2 separate regions of the Homo sapiens genome follow, and region 1 is linked to region 2. The links are contacts of gene promoters, found by promoter capture Hi-C in blood cells and fetal thymus (Javierre and others, 2016). All regions are on one chromosome and are shown on one strand. Each heading gives the region's core, a stretch centred on a gene start or on the middle of the fragment in contact. The rest is flanking DNA. Distances are from core to core; before and after follow the strand shown.

Region 1 (5,319 bases), core at 1,820-4,319, 110 kb before region 2:
GGAGTAGCTGGGATTACAGGTGCCTGCCACCACTCTTGGCTAAGTTTTTGTATTTTTAGTACAGACGGGATTTCACCATGTTGGCCAGGCTGGTCTCCAACTCCTGACCTCAGGTGATCCACCTGCCTCGGCCTCCCAAAGTGTAGGGATTACAGGTGTGAGCCACTGCCCCCAGCCCCCAGACTGGTCTTGAACTCCTGGGCTCAAGAGATCCTCCCAGTTAGACCGCTGTGCTGTTGGCTGAAATACCAATAATGAAGTAGCTGACAAGGTCTTAAGCTTTCAGTATGTTACCATGTTGAGGACCTAATATTCAACTTTATAAGACCCTATCAAGTGGGGTTGGCTATTTTCTTTTTACAAATGAAGATGCCAAATCATTACCCCATTTTACACACATGCAAAATAAGGTATGGAAATTTAAATGATGCCCAGGGATGTAGTATTCCAACTTGTCCCTTCCAAGTTGCTTAAATAATGATCCTGCACATAGAGGGCAGAAAGCTGAACTGTGTCCCAGTACAGTCACAGTGAATGATATTTCCTCAGCTGTCTATCCCACAGGACTGCGAGTCTCTGGAGGATAGGAATGTGTCTTATGCAGCATTATGGCCTATCACGGTACCTGGCATATAACAAATGACCTATTTTTGGAAAGCTTTGGAACCTGAGTCATGGTGGATGCCATTGCAGAAAACAATTTTGCTATTTTTGTGTTTCATAAACCACTTGAGTATCTTGAATATTTATGACTTTATTTTGCTTTTCCAGAATGAATATGCTGATTACTAATTTTGATCACTAACCACGCAGTCATCATTTCCAAACACACAGCTCACTTAGCCTAGAACAACCGTGTGGGTCTTTAAATCATTTTGCAGATGATGAAATGGATTCAGAGAGGTTAAGTAGCTCGCCCAAGGTTGCATAGCTAGTGAACATCAGAGCCAGGTAAGTCTGACCCCAAAGCCAGTAGTCTGTCCACTCAAATATGTCTACATGTCACCTACTTCTGGAAAACCTCAAGGGAAGCTCAACCTCTGATCATAGCACATAACTCAATTCAGAGTGAGATAGCTGAAGGCAGGCTGTAACCAGTATTGTCAATATTTGGCACTTTCAATGTCCAGTGTTTTGATGACCCTGGATATTTGAGAAGGAAATAACACAAAACATGTTTCTCATTTACAGGGGTTGCTTTCTAAGTTGTGACTAATCCTTAAGTCCACCTATAATTTGTACTGTTTTGTTCCAAATGCCAAAAGCTTCTACAAGGGCTACAATGCTGATGTGCTAACATTGACCTTGATACCTTGATGATGTAATATTGAGACATATATCAGTATTTGCTGGTCACTTCCTGAGAAGTTGGATTTCAGTGAATCTCTGGGGAGCCCTTAAAATAAACTAGGGTATTTTGTTCAATAGTAAAAGTTAGGTATTTAATATTAAAGGAACCAGAAAGTGAGTGAGCAGTGTTAGATGTAACATATATCTTCTTCATCCATTAATTCAATAGATATTTGAGTCTCTATTATCTGCCAGCAGTATTTAGGGACTGGGGATATACAAGTAAACAAAACAGACAAAAATTCCTATCTGTTTGGAACTTACATTCAGTGGGAAGAGACAAACACAATGAAAGGTAAAACATAAGTCAGATAGTAGCAGGAAGTCTTTTTTTTTTTTTTTTTTTTTGAGATGGAGTCTTGCTCTTTCTCCCAGGCTGGAGTGCAGTGGTGCCATCTCCACTCAATGCAACCTCTCCTGCCTCAGCCTCCCGAGTAGCTGGGATTACAGGCGCCTGCCACCACGCCTGGTTAATTTTTTGTATTTTTAGAAGAGATGGGGTTTCACCATGTTAGCCTGGCTGGTCTTGAACTCCCGACCTCAGGTGATCCAACCACCTCAGCCTCCCAAAGTGCTGGGATTACAGGCGTGAGCCACCGCGCCTGGCCAAGTGGTATGAAGTCTTTTGGAGAAAAGTAATGCAGGGAAAAGGAGCAGAGAATGCTGGGATGTGCGTGCAAGTTTTTTTTTTTTTTTTTTGATGGAGTTTTGCTCCTGTTGCCTACGCTGGTGTGCAATGGTGCGATCTCGGCTCACTGCAACCTCCGCCTCCTGGGTTCAAGCGATTCTCCTGTTCAGCCTCTGGACTAGCTGGGATTACAAGCGTGCGCCACTACGCCTGGCTAATTTCGTATTTTTAGTAGAGACGGGGATTCTCCATGTTGGTCAGGCTGGTCTCGAACGCCCACGACCTCAGGTGATCCACCCGCCTCGGCCTCCCAAAGTGCTGGGATTACAGGCGTGAGGCACGGCGCCCGGCCTGGACTTCTTACATTAGCTATCAGAGCGGTGATGGTGCGCATCAGCCATGGCCAGGGACAGGAATATAGGGAGATGATAATAAAGGTGGTAATGAAGTCACGGCCACCTGCCCTTATGAAGTCAAAATCATTAAAGACCCAGTGACGTTCATGCCATCCAGGGTTGAGGCCTCTCTTCTGCCCACCTGTGGTCCCAGGCCTAGTTAAACACCAAAGCTGTCTCTCACACTGGTGGTTCCAGGATAAAGCCTCGGCCTGGGGCCTGGTCTGCACGTTAGGCGCCGGCCGCAGCTCGCAGGAGGACCCGAGCCAGCCCGCCCCTTCCCGCACAGCCTGCTGGGAGTTGTAGTTCAGTCGTCGGAGAACCACGCCAAGCCCCGCCCCAGATGAGTGCGCAGTATGAGGACCGCTGGCCGGGACCCAGTGAGCGCGGGACTACAATTCCCAAAGGACGGTAGCACTCAGCGCCCCGCCAACAGGTACCCGGCGGCTCGCTTCGCGCACACGCGGCAGGCGGTGGCGGGATTCTGCCGCGTGCGCTTTCCCGCCCCGCCTCGCCTAGCCTCGTCCTGCGCTCGCCACGCCTCGGGCTGTCCGTTGGGCCACGCAGACCGCGCTGCGCTCGCTCCGTCGCGGCTCCGCGTGCCCCACCTTCTGGCTAGTTTTTTCTAGAGCCCAGGCTCCGCCCGTTTCCCGCTTCCAGGGCCCGGTTCGTTCCCGCCCGCACCCGTCCCTCTCCTCTGCACCCCTGCTGCTTCTGCTTTGAAGGCGGAGGCTCCATGTTGTCCCCTCAGCGAGTGGCAGCAGCTGCCTCAAGAGGAGCAGGTGAGGCGCCGATTTTCCCTGGATCGCCCCGCGGCCACCCCCGCCGCCTTCCCTGCTGTAGTTCTGAAAAGAACCCCCGCCCGCGCCGCCGCCCTTCCTCGTCCCGGGGCTGGGACCGCGCGTCCCTCGCCGGGGTCACTCGGTTTCCGAATTTGTGGTGGGGGGGCCCCTCTTCGGGCCCAGCTGGTCCAGCGAGGGCGGCACCTTCCTTACTTTTCGGCCGGGGGCGGCCGCCGTCAGGGCTCGGGCCCTGGTGCCGCCGGGGGCTCCTCCAGCTCCTCCCCTGGGCTGCAGCTGCCCCTGGGCGGCCCAAGGGCCGGTGGTCCCCGTGGGCGGCGTCCGGAGCTTCGGCCCCGCCGAGCCCCGCCCTGGGCAGAGCCGGGCGCCCCAGGGCGCTGCCCCTCCGTGCCCGGGCACTCAGCGCCCTCTCTGGTCGGAGAATCGGGGCCTGGATGGAGCGGGAAGGTGAATGCTGGTTTATTTGGCCTTTCTGGAAGTGCTGGAAGGCTGCGAAGTGTCTTGGAAGCTTTATTTTTATCCTAACGACCTTGAGGCACTGACCACAAGTATTAGGAAAGTTGGTTTTCAACCCATACTTAACGCTGTAAAGAATTGGTCTAAATTGGTTTTTCGTAAGTTAGTGCTTTTGGCACAGTACGTTGTTCTTTTGCTTTCCCGAAGACATGAAACATAGTGAAAGTATTAAAAACCAAATAAGGAGTCACCGTGTATTCACGGATCTGATTTAGTCTGTCATTTTACTTGGCTTTATTCTAGTGTAATGTGTGTGCTGTTGAAATGACCGTTTCACTTGCGAAATCGAAGAGCAAAAAGGAAAAGAACAGTGAAGAATTTTTAAATGAGTCTCAGTTCTCAAATTCAAATACGAAGCAATGGAACGTTTTGTCAGTCTTAGAATAACGGACCAAAAATGTACGATTTCACATATTGGCTTACTTTTGGAGATTTAAGAAGCATAACCTACGGAGTACTAATCCCTGTCAAGAATTTAGCATTGCAACATAGGTACTGAAATTCAAATTAGTGCTTTTTTTTTTCCATTCCCACAGAGATTAGCTTGTACTCCAGAAATTCCTGTTGCCGCTCTAACACCTGTAAACACTTGGCTGAGAAGGATCTCAGTATTGCAGTAGTCCAGCACATTGTTTTATTATTATTTTTTGAGACGGAGTTTTGCTCTGGTCACCCAGGCTGGAGTGCAATGGCGCGATCTCGGCTGATTGCAACCTCCGCTTCCTGGGTTCAAGCAATTCTTCTGCCTCATCCTCCCGGGTAGCTGGGATTACAGGCGCTCTCCACCATGCGCGGCTATTTTTTTTTGAGACGGAGTTTCGTTTTTGCTACCTAAACTGGAGTACAGTGGCGCAGTCTCGGCTCACTGCACCCTCCGCCTCCTGGGTTCAAATGATTCTCCTGCGTCAGCCTCCCGAGTAGCTGGGATTATAGACATCCGCCACCAGGCCCAGCTAATTTTTTGTATTTTTAGTAGAAACGGGGTTTCACCACGTTGGCCAGGCTGGTCTCGAACTCCTGACCTCAGGTGAACCACCCTCCTCTCCTCGGCCTCCCAAGTACTGGGATTACAGGCGTGAGCCATCGTGCCCGGCCCATTATTGTATTAGCTACAGTTTACTACCTCATTGTAGTAGAATTCATGAAATAGAAGTAACGGGATAGATGTGGTGTTGTGTACTAGCTTAATTTTCTTTTTCTTTTCTTTTTTTTTCTTCTGGTGAGAAGGAGTCTTGCTCTCTCGCCCAGGGTGGAGTGCAATGGCGCGATCTCTGCTCACTGCAACCTCCGCCTCCCAGGTTCAAGCGATTCTCCTGCCGCAGCCTCCCAGGTAGCTGGGATTACAGGCGCCCTCCACCGCGCCTGGGTAATTTTTGTATTTTTAGTAGAGACGGGGTTTCACCATGTTTGCCAGGCTGATCTTGAACTCCTGACCTCAGGTGATCCTCCTAGCTCGGCCTCCCAAAGTGCTGGGATTGCAGGTGTGAGCCACGGCGCCTGGCCCAGTTGCGTGGTATTTCGATTGTCAGAACACCTTAGATATATTTCACAGCTGAAGTATGTTAACAGATTAGAAGACAGGCTTTCCTGGTATAGTAGGCGCTAATTAGGAAATCCTTACTTGGCCGGG
Region 2 (5,014 bases), core at 1,809-4,308:
TAGTAGAGACGGGGTTTCACCGAGTTAGCCAGGATGGTCTCAATCTCCTGACCTCGTGATCCGCCCGCCTCGGCCTCCCAAAGTGCTGGGATTACAGGCGTGAGCCACCATGCCCGGCCCCATCAAGATTTCTTACAAAAAATTAGCTGCTGCAGCAATCACAGAGGCTGAGAAGTCCCACCATCTGCTGTTTGCAGGCTAGAGACCCTGGAGACTCAGGAAAGGCAGTGGTATCATTCCGTCTGCGTCAAAAGACCTGGGAATCCAGGGAGCCGATAGAGTAAATCCCAGTATGAGGGCAGAAGATGAGGTGAGCTATCTCAACACAAGTAGTGAGGCAGACGAAAAGGGGACGAATTTCTCATTCCTCTAGCTTTGTTCTAATCAAGCCCTCAACAGATTGATGCTCCCCACTCACATAAGGGAGGGTCATCTGCTTCACCCATTCCACCAATTCAAATGCTGATCTCATCTGGAAGCACCTCAACAGACATGCCCAGACATCACACAGCATCTGGGCACCCCATGGCCCTGTCGGATTGACACAACAAATTAACCACCACGGCTGCTATGAACATCTGTGGACAGGTTTTTGTGGGACACAGGGCTTATTTAAGAAATTGGTTATTTTCTATTTCTTCAACTAGGTTTATTGGTACCTGTTTTGTTATTATTTCTAGTGTTTTATACTTATGTTGCAATTATTCTTCTATATGGATATAAGATTTAATAAAATCCTTTATTTATTTATTTATTTATTTCTGAGACATAGTCTCACTCTGTAACCCAGGCTGGAGGGCAGTGGCGTGATCTTGGCTCACTGCAACCTCTGCATCCCAGGTTCAATAGATTCTCCTGCCTCAGCTTCCCGAGCAGCTGGACTACAGGCGTGCGCCACCAAGCCCAGCTAATTTTTGTATTTTTAGTAGAGACGGGGTTTTGCCATGTTGGCTAGGCTGGTCTCGAACTTCTGACCCAAGTGATTCACCCACCTTGGCCTCCAAAAGTGCTGGGATTACAGGCATCAGCCACTGTGCCCGGCCAAAGCCCATTAAAATTATATGTAGCCCAAGATATTCCTGGCATGTACATAGAAAGATAACATTGCCTCTAGAAAGGGGAACTGGGTTGCTGGAGGCTGGAGGCTGGAGGTGGGGAGAATGGAGGCTTATCTTTCCTTTTATAGCCTTTTATACAATTAAACAAACATAGAGAGCGTGCATGTGAACAAAAATGTAAGTATTCCAGGCTGTAGGCCTAGAGCTTACCAGCAGGCTGGGTGTGGCCTGCCCTACCCTGTTCTCTGTCAGTAGAACTTTGTCACCTTTCCTGCTCAGCATGAACAGTAGGGAGACAGCAGAATTCTCATTCCACTGGCCCTTGATTTGCAGACTCTCCTTTCCTATAGCTCCTGGACATAATTTCCTGACACTCTGAACAGCTTGGATTCGGTGAAAAGCCACAAGCCCCAGCATGAGTACAGTGATGTTCCTCCCCAACTCCGCCCTGCATGGTCTGGTTGGTCATTGTGCCAACCCACCTGAGATCCTTTCAGCAGACAGCACGTGGAAGTCCTCCTGCCCCAGGAAACAGGGGTGTGATGTGGTTGCAAGGGGAGGGCAGGCATAGGAAGAACTGAGATTGCTGGACTGGAGGTCAGCCCCTAAAAAGATGATCAGCAAGCCTGAGTGGGACCGGCCCAGAGGTCTCTGGACAATGGGGCAGGAGATAATTAGCCAAGCCAACCCTACTGTCTCCCTCCAGAAGGAATACTTTGAAGATTGTCCCACTGCAACTCAGAGGAGAATGGAGTGGAGGTGCTGAGAGAGGCCGTCTCCATGGGAGCAAGACCACATGACCACGTGAGCTGAGGGAGTAGCTGGTCATGCAGAACTGCTGTGGCTCCCAAAGAGTTTTCCAGTTCTGGCTCCAGTCCATCTGCATCCCCACACTAAAGCTCTTTGTTTGTTTGTTTGTTTATAGCCTGAAGAGGGTAAGTTATTGGTCCTCGCCCCCATGCCCCACAGTGAGGATGCTCAGCTCCCCCCAGCCCCACCCACCCCTTCCTGTCCAGTTTGCTCAGGACCGGACAACTATATGTAGATGACAGAAGAGATACTTATTTGGAGCTTGGGTGAGATAAGCATGCAGGTGCCTCAAAGAAGCAACCTCTACACACCCAGTACTGGGTTTTGGTTTCCATTTGGTGTGGAATGAGTGTTTCTGAACTGTGGGTGAGAGGCAGAAAGGGGAGTGGTTTCTATACTGCTGTCCAAGCAGGCTCACTCTGTTTCCAGGGTAGAGGAATGTGCCTCCAATAATACGATTTTTCTAGGGCCATGGGGTTTGAGGTTGGTGGAAATGTTTGCCTGTCCCGGCAACCATCATTCCCAATTTGGAGGCATGAATCTCAGTCTCTCTGGGGCTCCTCTCTCCTTTTTGAAATTTTCCCCCATGGTCTCTGTCTCTATATCCTCCCTTGCCCCCACAACCACTGGATCTTGCTTGTTCCACCTGAAACTTGGTGATTGTCAGCTGTGCCCCTGACCACACTGCCACTAAGTCCTTCTCAATCTATATCCTGAGCTCTGATTCCTCTTCTGTCTGGCTGATTTTCATGCCGCCTTGCCTACTTGATATGTGCTCTGCCCCTGTTTGAAGACAGGGAAAATTTTACATGAACCTTGATCTATGTTCTGTTTTTTTTTTTTTTTTTTTTTTGACTGAGTCTCGCCCTGCCGCCCAGGCTAGAGTGCAGTGGCACGACCTCTGCTCGCTGCAAGGTCTGCCTACTGGGTTGACGCCATTTCCTGCCTCGGCCTCTGGAGTAGCTGGGACTACAGGTGCCCACCACCATGCCCAGCTAATTTTTTCTATTTTTTAGGAGAGACGGGGTTTCACCGTGTTAGTCAGGATGGTCTCGATCTCCTGACCTTGTGATCCTCCCGCCTCAGCCTCTCAAAGTGCTGGGATTACAGGTGTGAGCCACCGCACCCAGCCTATGTTCTGAAATAGTTGTATATGGGCTGGGTCACAGGGAAAGTGAAACTCAGAGCTAATTTAAGGCTGGACACAGAGTCAGCAACACACAAGACATCATCTTGAAGGAAGGATGGCTTTGGTAAGTCCCCAGAAACGGTTTTAAAGCTTTGATTTGAGGAACAACCACCCTATTAGTGATGATTATGTGTATTCTTGTTGGTCTACAGCTCTGGCATGGAGGGCACATGGGCACATGCTGAGTTCTGGGGGTCTGGCTCTCTCAGACACTGTGGGAAGGAACCACGGTGCTGGGTTATGACCCTGGAGGCTCCCCAGCCTCAGCTGCCGCATGGGGTCTGGTTCTACTGTGGCCAAAGTTTGCGTTTATGCTTTTCCAAGCCCTCCTCTGGCCAAACTACCAGTGGCTCTGCTAAGCCTCCTGAAGGCAGGAATGGTGGGCTCAGGGAGAGCAGCCCTTGGTTTACCCCACAGGCCGCCTCCTCTGTCACATCATCCTCAGTGGGAGGGATTAGCTGGGGAGGGAGGGTCCAGGGAAAGGGCTCCAGCTGTGTGGGTGGCAATGGGGGCTGTCAGAAAGGGCTCTGTCTCCCTCGCCTCCAGGCAGGGCCAGTCCCTCTACTTTCCCTCCTTCCCTCCAATTCCTTCTTAGTTTCCTTCTTCCTTTAGACCCAATAGCAGCCACATTTCCCAAGTGCTCAGGGGTCCAGACACCATGCTAAACACTTCTTTTATTTAATCCACACCAGGTAGTTAATAAGCAATCCTATGAAGTAGGCATAATTACTGCCAACTTCATGGATAGGAGGAATGATATACTGGTAAGTATAGAGAGGGGGCTGCCCAAAAGTCAGAGAGGGAATTCGAACTTAGGAGGCTCTGACTCTAAAGCTTCGACTTAAAAAAGAAAGAATGTATTTAATTCCAGGAGAAATACGTGAACACATTCACTTTGTCTGAAAAACCGAAACTCTAGCCTGGGCAACATAGTGAGATCCCATCCCTACAAAAAATATTAAAATTAGCCAAGGATAATGGTATGTGCTTATAGTCCTAGCTTCTTGGGAGGCTGAGGTGGGAGGATCACTTGAGCTGGGGAGGCTGAGGCTTCCTGCAGTGAGCTGTGATAGTGCCACTGCACTCCAGCCTGGGTGACAAAATGAGATCATGTCTCAAAAAAAGCCAAAAGCCAAAAACCAAAACTATTAGCATAAAAACTAATGTCCCCTTTGACCATCCTTCCCATCTGTACAGCCTTTCCCCTCTGTACAACCTGGTGCGTATTCTTCCAAATATTTTTCTGTTTTTGCATACATATATGGCTACCTTACAAGTATTGGTTTGTAGCTTTGGGGTTTGTTGTAGTTTTAAATTGCATTCCGTGAGGACAATTCAGTTAGGAAATGCTTGAATCTTTTCCTTTATTTACCAGCTTTTGGAATAATAGGGTGATTCTTTTCCATCCTCCAAAGATGCCTAGTGTTTTTAAAAAATATCCTTATGAACACGTGGGTTTTAACATATTTGATGTGTTTCAGTTTGTGTACAGTTATTTTTATTATTTTTTTTTGATGCTCAAATTGTCCCTTATTTGGTCAAGTTGACTCTTGACCCCTCTAGTCAAAGGCTTTACTTTTTTTTAAATTTCGAGGTTCTGGGGGGGAACATGTGGTATTTGGTTACATAAATTAGTTTTTAGTGGTGATGTCTGAGATTTTGGTGTACCTATCATCTCAGCAGTGTACTCGGTACCCAATGCGTAGTCTTTTTTTTTTTTTTTTTTTTTTTTTTTGTGATGGAGTCTCACTCTATCGCCCAGGCTGGAGTGCAGTGGCACGATCTCTGCTCACTGCAACCCCTGCCTCCCGGGTTCAAGCAATTCTCATGCCTCAGCCTCCCAAGTGGGTGGGATTACAGGCACCTGCCACTATACCCAGCTAATTTTAGTATTTTTAGTAGAGATGGGGGTTTCACCATGTTGGCCAGGCTGGTCTCAAACTTCTGACCTCAGGCA

The links. Contacts are between HindIII fragments. The CHiCAGO score rates a contact against its expected background, and 5 or more counts as called.
Region 1: a contact is called between the fragment with the promoter of ATL3 here and the fragment with the promoter of PLAAT2 in region 2, in 3 of 17 cell types (naive B cells, total B cells and monocytes). The highest score is 7.7, in naive B cells.

Annotation. Positions count from the first base shown.
Region 1 is chr11:63,669,126-63,674,444 of GRCh38, reverse strand. ATL3 (atlastin GTPase 3) reads left to right here and starts at 3,069. Exons shown (of 13, transcript NM_015459.5): 1 at 3,069-3,155. The coding sequence starts at 3,110. RefSeq lists enhancers at 2,553-2,662, 2,703-3,202, 3,203-3,704 and silencers at 2,753-2,872, 3,193-3,252, 3,283-3,542. The HindIII fragment of the contact is 2,416 bases long and covers 1,268-3,683 here.
Region 2 is chr11:63,561,423-63,566,436 of GRCh38, reverse strand. PLAAT2 (phospholipase A and acyltransferase 2) reads left to right here and starts at 3,058. Exons shown (of 4, transcript NM_017878.2): 1 at 3,058-3,121. The coding sequence starts at 3,113. RefSeq lists a silencer at 2,022-2,101. The HindIII fragment of the contact is 3,539 bases long and covers 1-3,149 here.